Regions from separate parts of the Homo sapiens genome. Here regions 1, 3 and 4 are each linked to region 2. Evidence: promoter capture Hi-C in human tissues and cell types (Jung and others, 2019). All regions are on one chromosome and are shown on one strand. Each heading gives the region's core, a stretch centred on a gene start or on the middle of the fragment in contact. The rest is flanking DNA. Distances are from core to core; before and after follow the strand shown. Region 1 overlaps NFAT5 (nuclear factor of activated T cells 5). Region 2 holds the start of PDF (peptide deformylase, mitochondrial). Region 3 overlaps NFAT5 (nuclear factor of activated T cells 5). Region 4 overlaps NFAT5 (nuclear factor of activated T cells 5).

Region 1 (2,700 bases), core at 1-2,500, 300 kb before region 2:
AATGAGAATCTGTGAACAGTTTCAAAATGCTGTTCTGTTGACTCAAGTAATATAAAAATATGCTTATTTATTAGAAACTGAATAAATCACAATATTTATAAAAGTGTTATTAAGAGGACAATAAAAAGAGAAATATTAAAGGAACAAAGCAATAATAGGCCAAGTTTGCTTTTTGGCAATGTCAATTTGTAACTGTCAAACAATTAGCAGTTGTTTCTGAATTAATGGCTATAGGCCCAAGTTTGCTCTCTAATAATGCAGACTTCAGCATAAATCCATACATACATACCATCCATATGTATAAGTGTATGTATTTAAATTTACTATGTAATTTCAGTATAATAAGATAGAAGGAGGAGTAGAGATTTTTAAATCTGCTTGCAACATGTTTGTAACTAGGATCTGACTTCCTTCTAGAAATGGTCTAGTTTTCTTGGAAAAAAGGGAATGGCCATAAAGAATAACCAAGATCAACTCACAACATTTTAGCTCACAGCATCTGTAGGTGAATTACCTTTCTCGTTAGTGGGTTTCTGGTTTAATTTCATGAAGAGTATACTACATTAGGTGGCAAAAATTCTGAAATATGTTAACCCAGGAAAGCAATCAAAGGCAAATTTCTTCCTCAAATTTAGTCAACTCAAGAAAATCCTCATTATATAACTGTAAATACTTTCTAACGTAAGTAAATTAAGTTATAATAAATTCAATGGGATAAAAAATTTTGTTGCTAGAAATCACTTTTATTAAATTATTATTATAGAAATCAAATTCCCATTCGAAGATCCTGACACTTGTAGAGAAGAGGTATGGCTTTTCAACTCAATATTCTATACATTGCCTAGTTAAGGATCTTGCGTTTCCCTAATCGAAGTGATAGCACACAATGCCAAATTCCCTCAAGCACAATGACAAGGAGTAAGAACTAGGTAAAAGAAAAAAGAGAGATACTTTATGGCTAGAAGGATTGTGATATGATGACATGCAAATTACCTAACACAATTCTTGTCACATAGTAGGAACTTAAAAGTGATAATATATTTTCATTTTTTAAAAGCTGTCTCCTACAGGAGGAGTAACATATTTTCTTCACCTCAGTTTTTGTACAGTGTATTATTATAGATGGTTTAGAAATTTCTGTGATTTTAATTCAGGTGATTAGGAGATATGAAATGAATTAGAATATAGCACTTATTTGATTATAGGACATTAATTTGCATCTCTAGTGCCCTCTCTTATAGTATAAATAGCACTCAATGAAATTTTGTAGAAAATACTTGTTACATACTTGAGATTTATTAAGTGACATGGCATAGAACTCAAAGCACTATATATCAAAGCTCTTCCAAAAGAAAAATTTATTATATGGATCACTTCACATCAAGTTATGAACTTAAAAACCGACAGTGGTCCAACAAGTGGAGATATTCAACCAAGATTTCCACTGTACACACTTTATGACTGTGTATTATCTTTATACATGTTAAAAACTGCTATGAAGTTAGCCGGGTGTGGTGGCACACACCTGTAGTCCCAGTTACTCGGGAGGCTGAGGCAGGAGAATCGCTGGAACCCGGGAGGTGGAGGTTGCAGTGAGCCAAGATCACGCCACTGCACTCCAGCCTGGCAAAAGAGCAAGACTCCATCTCAAAAAACAAAAACAAAAACAAAAGCACAATTGCTATGAAGTATTAGTGTACTGTTACTTCTAAAAAGAGTATTAATATATAATTACTGAAACCAAAATATGAATATTATGAAGCTATGCAAAAAAAGAATTATTAATGCATTATTAAGATTCTCTGGCTGAATTATAAAACCTATAGTTTAATTCATTTTTGTTTTGTTTTGTTTTGTTTCTTTGAGATGGAGTCTCACTCTATCGCCCAGGCTGGAGTGCAGTGGCGTGATCTTGGCTCACTGCAACCTCTGCCACCCGAGTTCAAGCAATTCTCCTGCTTCAGCCTCCCAAGTAGCTGGGATTACAGAAGCCTGCCACCATGCCCAGCTAATTTTTGTATTTTTAGTAGAGACGGGGTTTCACCATCTTGGCCAGGCTGGTCTTGAACTCCTGACCTCATGATCCACCCACCTCGGCCTCCCAAAGTGCTGGGATTACAGGCGTGAGCCAGTGTACCCGGCCTAGTTTAATTCATTGTTTAGTTCAAGAATTTGAATTAAAAATTTTAAAGAAACTTCAAACAGTCCACTTAGAAAAATATATTTTGAAATAAACTAATAAACACAATGTTATATTCCCAAATGAAGCCAAACAAAACAAGTGTAGAATAGAACAAGAAAGTAACTTGATTTCTTAAAATGAAGACTAAAGTCCATGACTTTCTATTTTAAATAAATTAAGTAAATTTAATGATTAAAACTGTAAGCACATAGATTAAAAATATTTGATTATACAGCAGGTGAATTATGTCTCAATAAAGCTGTTATTTTAAAAAACCCCAAACCTGCCATACATCTTTTCAAAAGCCCCAAATTCTGATATAACTCATTTAGTTCTCCTAATACCTATGTTTTAATTCTGTATAACTATACTATAGGATTATCCAAAAAATAAACAAAAGAATCTTTTCATGATTTGTACTTCTTCTTAATAAACTCCTTATTTTGCCAAAAAGTGTCATCAATTCATTTGGATAACTTTTATGTTTTAGGAACGTGGCCTCTCTTTTAATTACTGAG
Region 2 (2,700 bases), core at 102-2,601:
TTCCCTGGTGCTGCCTGAGGTCTGGGTTCCTGCTGCAGGCACCCTACACTGCTGTTCCGTTACGTTCTGCTTCACAGTATAGCTTCCCATTCCCTGTAACAAAGGTGGTTTTTGCTGTATTAAAACATAGTAATTGATGGCTGGGCGCAGTGGCTCATGCCTGTAATCCCAGCACTTTGGGAGGCCGAGGCGGATGGATCACCTGAGGTTGGGAGTTTGAGACCAGCCTGGCCAACATAGTAACTCCGTCTCTACTAAAAATACAAAAATTAGCCTGGCATGGTGGCGGGCGCCTGTAATCCCAGCTACCACGGAGGCTGAGGCATGAGAACTGTTTGAACCTGGGAGGCAGAGGTTGCAGTGAGCAGCAATCACGCCACTGCACTCCAGCCTGGGCGACAGAGCGAGACTGTCTCAAAAAAAAAAATAGTAATGGCTCGTTTTTTTTCCCTTAAATTTCCTTTTTTTTTTTTTTTTTTTTTTTTGAGACGGAGTTTTGCTCTTGTGGCCCAGGCTGGAGTGCAATGGCGCGATCTCGGCTAACTGCAATCTCCACCTCCTAGGTTCAAGCGATTCTCCTGCCTTAGCCTTCCCAAGTAGCTGGGATTACAGGCCTGCGCCACCAAGCCCGGCTAATGTTGTATTTTTAAGAGAGATGGGATTTCTCCGTGTGGGTCAGGCTGGTCTCGAATTCCTGACCTCAGGTGATCCGCCCCCCCCTCCCCGGCCTCCCAAAGTGCTGGGATTACAGGCGTGAGCCACCGCGCCCGGCCTCCCTTAAATTTCTATATTGAGTTTTATTAGTAACTGTTTTCCATTTTGCTTTCCCCACGTCTGGGTTAGGCATTCCTCCCACTCAGCTCTCCAAGTACGGTAACCTAGGGCATGTGAACATCGGCGCCATTCAGGAGCCCCTCGCCTTTATCCTGCCAAAGAGAGAGACGCTTTTCACCCTGGATGACCAGGCGCTGGGGCCCGAGCTCACAGCTCCAGCACCAGAGCCTCCCGCCGAGGAGCCACGCCTGGAGCCCGCGGGCCCAGCCTGCCCGGAGGGAGGGCGAGCGGAGACGCAGGCCGAACCGCCCAGCGTGGGGCCCTAGCCGGCGTCCCCTGCCTCCAGAACGCGGTGCGTGAGGTTCCCGGCGCGGGGTGGCCAGGACTGCCTCGCCCTGGAAGGTCCGGGGCGGGTTCGGGAGGCGGGAAGGCGCTCCCGGGAGGAGAGCGGAAGGGGGCGGTGCTCACTGCCAGTCTAAGCAGGAAGGCGGGGATCCAGTCGCGGCTTCGCTGTGTGCTGGCCGACGGCGCTTCCCGGCGTGCCCCGCGCTGCGGCCGGAAGGGGCGGGCCGGGTCACTGTTAAGGGGGCCGCCATGGCCCGGCTGTGGGGCGCGCTGAGTCTTTGGCCACTGTGGGCGGCCGTGCCGTGGGGCGGGGCGGCAGCCGTCGGTGTCCGGGCTTGCAGCTCCACGGCCGCCCCGGACGGCGTCGAGGGCCCGGCGCTGCGGCGCTCCTATTGGCGCCACCTGAGGCGTCTGGTGCTGGGTCCTCCCGAACCGCCGTTCTCGCACGTGTGCCAAGTCGGGGACCCGGTGCTGCGCGGCGTGGCGGCCCCGGTGGAGCGGGCGCAGCTAGGCGGGCCCGAGCTGCAGCGGCTGACGCAACGGCTGGTCCAGGTGATGCGGCGGCGGCGCTGCGTGGGCCTAAGCGCGCCGCAGCTGGGGGTGCCGCGGCAGGTGCTGGCGCTGGAGCTCCCCGAGGCGCTGTGTCGGGAGTGCCCGCCCCGCCAGCGCGCGCTCCGCCAAATGGAGCCCTTCCCCCTGCGCGTGTTCGTGAACCCCAGCCTGCGAGTGCTTGACAGCCGCCTGGTCACCTTTCCCGAGGGCTGCGAGAGCGTCGCCGGCTTCCTGGCCTGCGTGCCCCGCTTCCAGGCGGTGCAGATCTCAGGTGCGGGCGGCGGGGACCGGGGCTGCTGGAGCAGCGCGCGCGTCTCTTCTGCCCGACTCCGCGAGAGCGCAGAAGTGGTCGCGGTTCATACGCCGGACCTCCCGCAGGAGCGAAGTGGGATGCGGGAGCGGAGAGGCCTCAGGACGGATAGAAGCTCCTGTGGGGTAGAGCCCGCTCAGATAGGACGCAGGGGCGAGGAGAGGTCCCCTAGTTCCGCTGTTACCTGACAGCCTGGCGTCTGCTTTCTGCTCCCTTGCTCTCTGAGGCAAACACGCTCTTCGGCCCCAGTTAGATCCGCCACGGTGGAGTTGGAGAAGTGGGGGTTAGCCCCCGCCAGCCTGACCCAGCCCAGGGGGCTAGGCCATTCCCCCGTGGTACCACAGGATGCCTCGCGGAATGCGGGCTCTGCTGGGGTCGGGGTGATTGTTCCTGCACAGCAAGCCCGTCGGTTCAAGATGGTCAGAAAAACAAGTGGGGTCTCAAGCTGCAGAACCTCTGTTAGGAGTTGGGAGCCCACAGGTACCTCAGAAGTGGGAGGAGTGTTCGGAAGGGTCGCACCGTAGAAAGATGATTTCTCATCTCAGCTCTACAGTGAGCTCGATAACCTAATTACCAGAGTTGGGAACCAGGTTGAACGCTTGGTAATGGACCGAGATGAGGGACGTTTTCCAGTTAGAAGAGGAGCTGCTGTCTACATTTGCCATCTGCTGTTGCCTCTTGTCAATGGGAACAGCCAGGACCGGGGGCAGGGGTAGGGA
Region 3 (2,700 bases), core at 107-2,606, 260 kb before region 2:
AAACTCCCAAGAATAAACCCTACTCTACTCTGAAAGCAATTTATTCCATTTAATGATCAAATGTATTATTTGCCTTTAAAGGATATATCTAAATCCCTTAGTTCTACACTAAACAAGTACCAATATATTTTATGATTAATAAGCATTCTTATATTTTTAGCTAGAATGCATTTTTCAGAAGCATGAATTGAGGGGAGTAATCAAAAGATGAGAAAACTATCAATTTCATAAGTATTAATGCCCCTTAAAAATTTAAGTTAGAAACATTATGAGGGAAAAAAACAGCTTCACTTTAATCTTAATCCCTGTAAAGCACACATTTTAGTCAAGACTTGAGATCATAAGAATTTGAAATAATCACAAGCTTTTATTTATTTTTCTCCTCACAATCTGTTCCCATGTTCACAAGATTTTAGATACTATAATAATTTTTGAACAACAACAAAAAAAAATCAGTGACAACTAAGTACCATGTATCATCCCTAAAAAGTAGTTACCATTGAGCATGGTGCTCACGCCTGTAATCCCAGCACTCTGGGAGGCCAAGGTGGGTGGATCACTTGAGGTCATGAGTTCGAGACCAGCCTGGCCAACATGGTGAAACCCCGTCTCTACTAAAAATACAAAAATTATCCAGGCGTGGTGGTGGGTGCCCGTAATCTCAGCTACTTGGGAGGTTGAGGCAGGAAAATTGCTTGAACTCAGGAGGCAGAGGTTGCAGTGAGCCGAGATCACACCACTGCACTCCAGCCTGGGTGACAGAGTGAGATTCCTTCTCAAAAAAAAAAAAAAAAAGAAAAAGTAATTATCATTTTCCTTTTAAGAATTATTGGTAGGAGTTACCACTAAACCTAAAAGAGCCAATAAGTATCATGGAAAAAGAGAAAGAATAAAGCTTAAAGTTTTTATAGCTTTGGAAAGACTTTTTGTAATTTTTTTTTAAATCAAGACAGGGTCTCATTCTGTCACCCAGGCTGAAATGCAGTGGCACAATCACAGGTCACTGCAGCCTCAAACTCCTGGGCTGTGTAGGAAGGGGTCTTGCTATGTTGCCCATGCTGGTCTTGAACTCCTGGCCTTAAGTCATCTGCCTTGGCCCCATGAAGTGCTGAAATTACAGGTGTGAGCTACTGTGCCAAGCCAACTTTCAATTTCTGAAAAATTTTTTGTTAAAAATATCTTGAACACCCAAAAAGAATTACTTATCCTGAAAAATCAACTTTTTTTCTCAACATATTCAGAGCAAGTTAGAGATTCATATTCAAACACTGTTTAAAGGCACTAGCATAATGTAGAAAATTATTCATAGAAGCTTCACGATAATCTTGCTAGATAAAAAGGAAATGAGGATAAAAAGAGGAAAAGAAATAAAACTAGCAAAGTTTAAAACAGATACTTGATTATGTTTCCTAACTAGAAATCCTGTCCTTTTCCCCTTACTAAACAGCTTCCTCCAAATTAACTGAATTGCATGTTTCATAAAACAGTAAATAATTTTTCCATGGTGGCCAGGCTGAAAAACCAACTATCTAAAGCTTTCCACTTCATCTTCATCCTCGGAGTAAGAAAACTGGGGCGGGGTGGGGAGGGGACTCTTTAATACTTTTTTCATACCAACTAGAAGTTAGAGAAAATACAATTTGTGGCCAGGCACAGTGGCTCATGCCTGTAATCCCAGCACTTTGGGAGGCCAAAGCAGGCATATCACCTGAGGTCAGGCGTTTGAGACCAGCCTGGTCAACATGGCAAAACCCCATCTCTACTAAAAATAGAAAAATTAGCCAGGCATGGTGGCATGTACCTGTAATCTCAGCTACTAGGGAGGCTGAGGCAGGAGAATTGCTTGAACCCAGGAGACGAAGGTTGCAGTGAGCCGAGATTACGCCACTGCACTCCAACCTGGGCGACAGAGTGAGACTCAGTCTCAAGAAAAAAGAAAATACAATTTGGGAAATAAAATGATACAGCCTCTCACACATTAAGGTCCAGATCGTGCCTAAATTTCTAGTGATTTGAGTTAGAAGACCTGAAAGATTCTCCTTTGTCTCTTATCTCACTCTAATCCCACAACACTCTACCCCAGATGGGGCGGGGAATCCCATGACACTGTACCCAAGAAAGGTAGCCATTTTAAAAATATGTTCAGCAAAACTGAAAAATAATTACATGGGACAAATCTCCCTATCCTGAACAACTAAACTGTTAGGCTGAGGGAGGGGAAAGCCAAAAAAAGATATAGAACACAACCTGAAATTTATATAACACTAAATTTAAAACATGATTTGGTTTAAACCACTTTAGAATTAATTTTCTCCTTATAATCATCTAGCCTGAGACAAAGTAGCTATGAATAACAATTTTCCAGTATTTTCAAACTGAAATTCAACTGAGTCTTATTTTAACAATACAAATACAAAGAAAGAACTAGAACTGCCTTATACTTTAAATCACATTTACGCAAAAAATCCTGAACTTTGACTAATACAGTTTTTTAAATAGCACTTTAAATATCCAAACCTAAAAGTATTTGGAAATAACTTTGTTGCATACCATAGCAAAATTGTCTAAAACAAGATTTGTCAATTTACAAATCTATTTACAATACTAGAGTTTTTAGTCACCTGATACTCAGGACTCAACGTCTGTACTCAGACGACCCACAACTGCCAAAATGCAGAGCTTTATTTATTTTTTTATTAT
Region 4 (2,700 bases), core at 181-2,680, 280 kb before region 2:
CATATTATATAACCATATATTTAATAATCATTCCTTTCTAAACTAATCATGTCCTTGTAAACATACATAATAATCTATCAATGAAAAGAAACAAGCAGAATTACAATTTATATTATTTTACATATATTATTTTGTTGTTGATCTTGAAAGACAGTCTAATATTAAATTCACAAGATCAACAGCATTTTCAAAAATAAGAAAAAACTAATTTTGTCACCATTTGTTCATTTCGTGTGCATAGGTACACACACAGTAAATCACATGTTCACAGAAACCCGAGTCTGCTCCCAAAAAGCTTTCAGTCCAGTGAGGTTGACTGAAAGCACATAAATAGCCAATCAAAACTGTATCAAGACACCAGAGCTATGAGGGAAAAAAGGTAGTAGGAGAGAAGAAATATATAGAGGGCCATGCAAGAATGGTATGAATGTAATGAATGTAGTTTTAAGGGATTAATCTAATCTAAATTAATCTAAAATTCACATTAAAAGCAAGAATTTTAGAGGTAGAAGTGGTGAAAGTATTTGGTGTAACCCTCAGTTTTTACGGAGAAGAAATTATGTTCCAATTAGGTTACAACTTCCTTTGTAGAGCCAAGACTAGCTAAAGCTGGGTCCCAGGCAGGAGAATAGCTGGCTGAAAGATAAATTCTTTCCCCAGCATTCCTGTCTATGCAATTAGAGTAACACTGAGGTTAGGAATGCCATCTATTTTACTTACTATATTATTATGCCTGGCACATAATGGGCATTTCAATAATGTGCTTAATAAATAAACAAATGAATGAATAAGCAAATCATCTACCTTAAGTGATTCTACCCAAACAATTCTAAAACATAAATTCCTGTTTTTATACCATAATCTTAGAGATGAAAAACAAAAATATTAGACAAACAAAAACCAAAAAAAACCCATCTTGTTTTCCTTTCTGTCATTACCAGAATATCCTACTACCTGAACTAAAAATGTTATCTTTCTATGTTATATTTAATCCAAATACCCTGTCCCCTCACGTCCTATCTTCCAACTTCCACCCCATTATCACCTAAATCACCAATTTTCTGATTAACAAAAATCACTTTTCATATCTCAGGGTCTTCACTTTCAGTTATTTTTAAAGCCTTAAAAAGTTAGTTTTCTTTTTTTCTATTTATACGCACAATTTTTTTCCCTTCTTTGACCCAACACTGAAGAACTCAACAAGACACTCGCTCTATCTGTCTCTCTCTCTCTCTCTCTTCTTGTCTCACTCTGTTGTCCAGATTGGAGTGCGGTGGCACAATCATTGCTCATTGCAGCCTCAACCTCCCAGGCTCAAGTGATCCTCACACTTCAATGTCCCAAGTATGCTGGGCCTACAGGCTCATGCCACCATGTCCAGCTAATATTTTCTTTTTTCTTTTTTTTTTTTTTTTTTTTTTCAGTAGAGACAGGGTCTCACCATGTTGTCCAGGCTGGTCTTGAATTCCTGGGCTCAAGCAATTCTACCACCTTGGCCTCTCGAAGTGCCGGTATTACAGGTGTGAGCTACTGCACCTGGTCCTACTTTGTCTTTTCTATTCTACACAAAGATGATCACCCACAAGCAAGTATTCAGACCTCATACTTTGAGATATAAGCTGATGTTTACAGAGATCAAAAATAAGTGTCTACAATGAGTGGCAATGAACAAATGATCAAATTCATTACTTCTGCCTCTTAATTCAATTTTTTCCATTTTAACTTTGTTTCCCTTACTTTCCGTACAACTGCAGAATGCCTCTAACTTAAGACTGGTTTTCAACAGGGAATACCAGAATTTCATGTAGACATATGTATATTTTTTTTAACCTGAATGAAGATGCCTGGGATTTCATCACAGACCGACTACTGAATAGGGGTTTACAGGGAATAAGATCACAGAATGTATATGTGTATAAAGCTTCACAAGTGATTCTGGCTAACAGCCATTACTCTGAAGCATGAAATGCAGCTGGAATGAAAATGGATTGGCTTGTATTTACTACCTCTTTAAGCATTGCTAGTTAATTCATTTTTTTCTGAAGAGTCTAGGAAAGAACAGCAACCAAAGACCTGAACCACCTTCTTCTGCAGATTACCTAAATACTTTTTTTTTTTTTGAGGCGGAGTCTCACTCTGTTGCCCAGGCTGGAGTGCAGTGGCATGATCTTAGCTCACTGCAAGCTCTGCCTCCTGGGTTCACACTATTCTCCTGCCTCAGCCTCCCGAGTAGCTGCGACTACAGATGCCTGCCACCACGCCTGGCTAATTTTTTGTATTTTTAGTACAGACGGGTTTTCACCGTGTTAGCCAGGATGGTCTCGATCTCCTGACCTCGTGATCCGCCCGCCTTGGCCTCCTAAAGTGCTGGAATTACAGGCGTGAGCCACCACACCTGGCCAGATTACCTAAATTCTTCAACCTAGAGGAAAAAACAATTATATTTACATAACAAAAAATTAGCCGGGCGTGGTGGCAGGCACCTGTAGTCCCAGCTACTTGGGAGGCTGAGGCAGGAGAATGGCGTGAACCCAGGAGGCAGAGCTTGCAGTGAGCAGAAATTGTGCCATTGCACTGTACCACAGCCTGACTAAAATGACAACTACTATTTCACATGGTGGTAGATAATTTTCAATATACTTATTTTTAGTAGAGACAGGATTTCACCGTGTTAGCCAGGATGGACTCGATCTCCTGACC

The links. Contacts are between HindIII fragments. The study calls those that stand out against the background at their distance.
Region 1: a fragment that was not itself captured here is called in contact with the fragment with the promoter of PDF in region 2 in 1 of the 25 tissues and cell types used here (small bowel).
Region 3: a fragment that was not itself captured here is called in contact with the fragment with the promoter of PDF in region 2 in 1 of the 25 tissues and cell types used here (mesenchymal stem cells).
Region 4: a fragment that was not itself captured here is called in contact with the fragment with the promoter of PDF in region 2 in 2 of the 25 tissues and cell types used here (dorsolateral prefrontal cortex and lymphoblastoid cells).

What each region holds. Positions count from the first base shown.
Region 1 is chr16:69,630,594-69,633,293 of GRCh38, reverse strand. All of the region lies in intron 3 of NFAT5 (nuclear factor of activated T cells 5), which reads right to left. Among named protein-coding and RNA genes, the nearest start is that of NFAT5, 66 kb to the right of the region's middle. The HindIII fragment of the contact is 7,985 bases long and covers 1-2,700 here.
Region 2 is chr16:69,329,239-69,331,938 of GRCh38, reverse strand. PDF (peptide deformylase, mitochondrial) reads left to right here and starts at 1,351. Exons shown (of 2, transcript NM_022341.2): 1 at 1,351-1,942. The coding sequence starts at 1,369. It overlaps COG8 (component of oligomeric golgi complex 8), which reads left to right. Exons shown (of 6, transcript NM_032382.5): 5 at 844-1,126. The coding sequence ends at 1,100. RefSeq lists enhancers at 42-689, 1,338-1,985 and silencers at 914-1,303, 1,334-1,713. The HindIII fragment of the contact is 3,727 bases long and covers 657-2,700 here.
Region 3 is chr16:69,590,176-69,592,875 of GRCh38, reverse strand. The region is part of intron 2 of NFAT5 (nuclear factor of activated T cells 5); the gene reads right to left. Among named protein-coding and RNA genes, the nearest start is that of NFAT5, 26 kb to the right of the region's middle. The HindIII fragment of the contact is 3,275 bases long and covers 1-2,700 here.
Region 4 is chr16:69,608,541-69,611,240 of GRCh38, reverse strand. All of the region lies in intron 2 of NFAT5 (nuclear factor of activated T cells 5), which reads right to left. Among named protein-coding and RNA genes, the nearest start is that of NFAT5, 44 kb to the right of the region's middle. The HindIII fragment of the contact is 3,452 bases long and covers 1-2,700 here.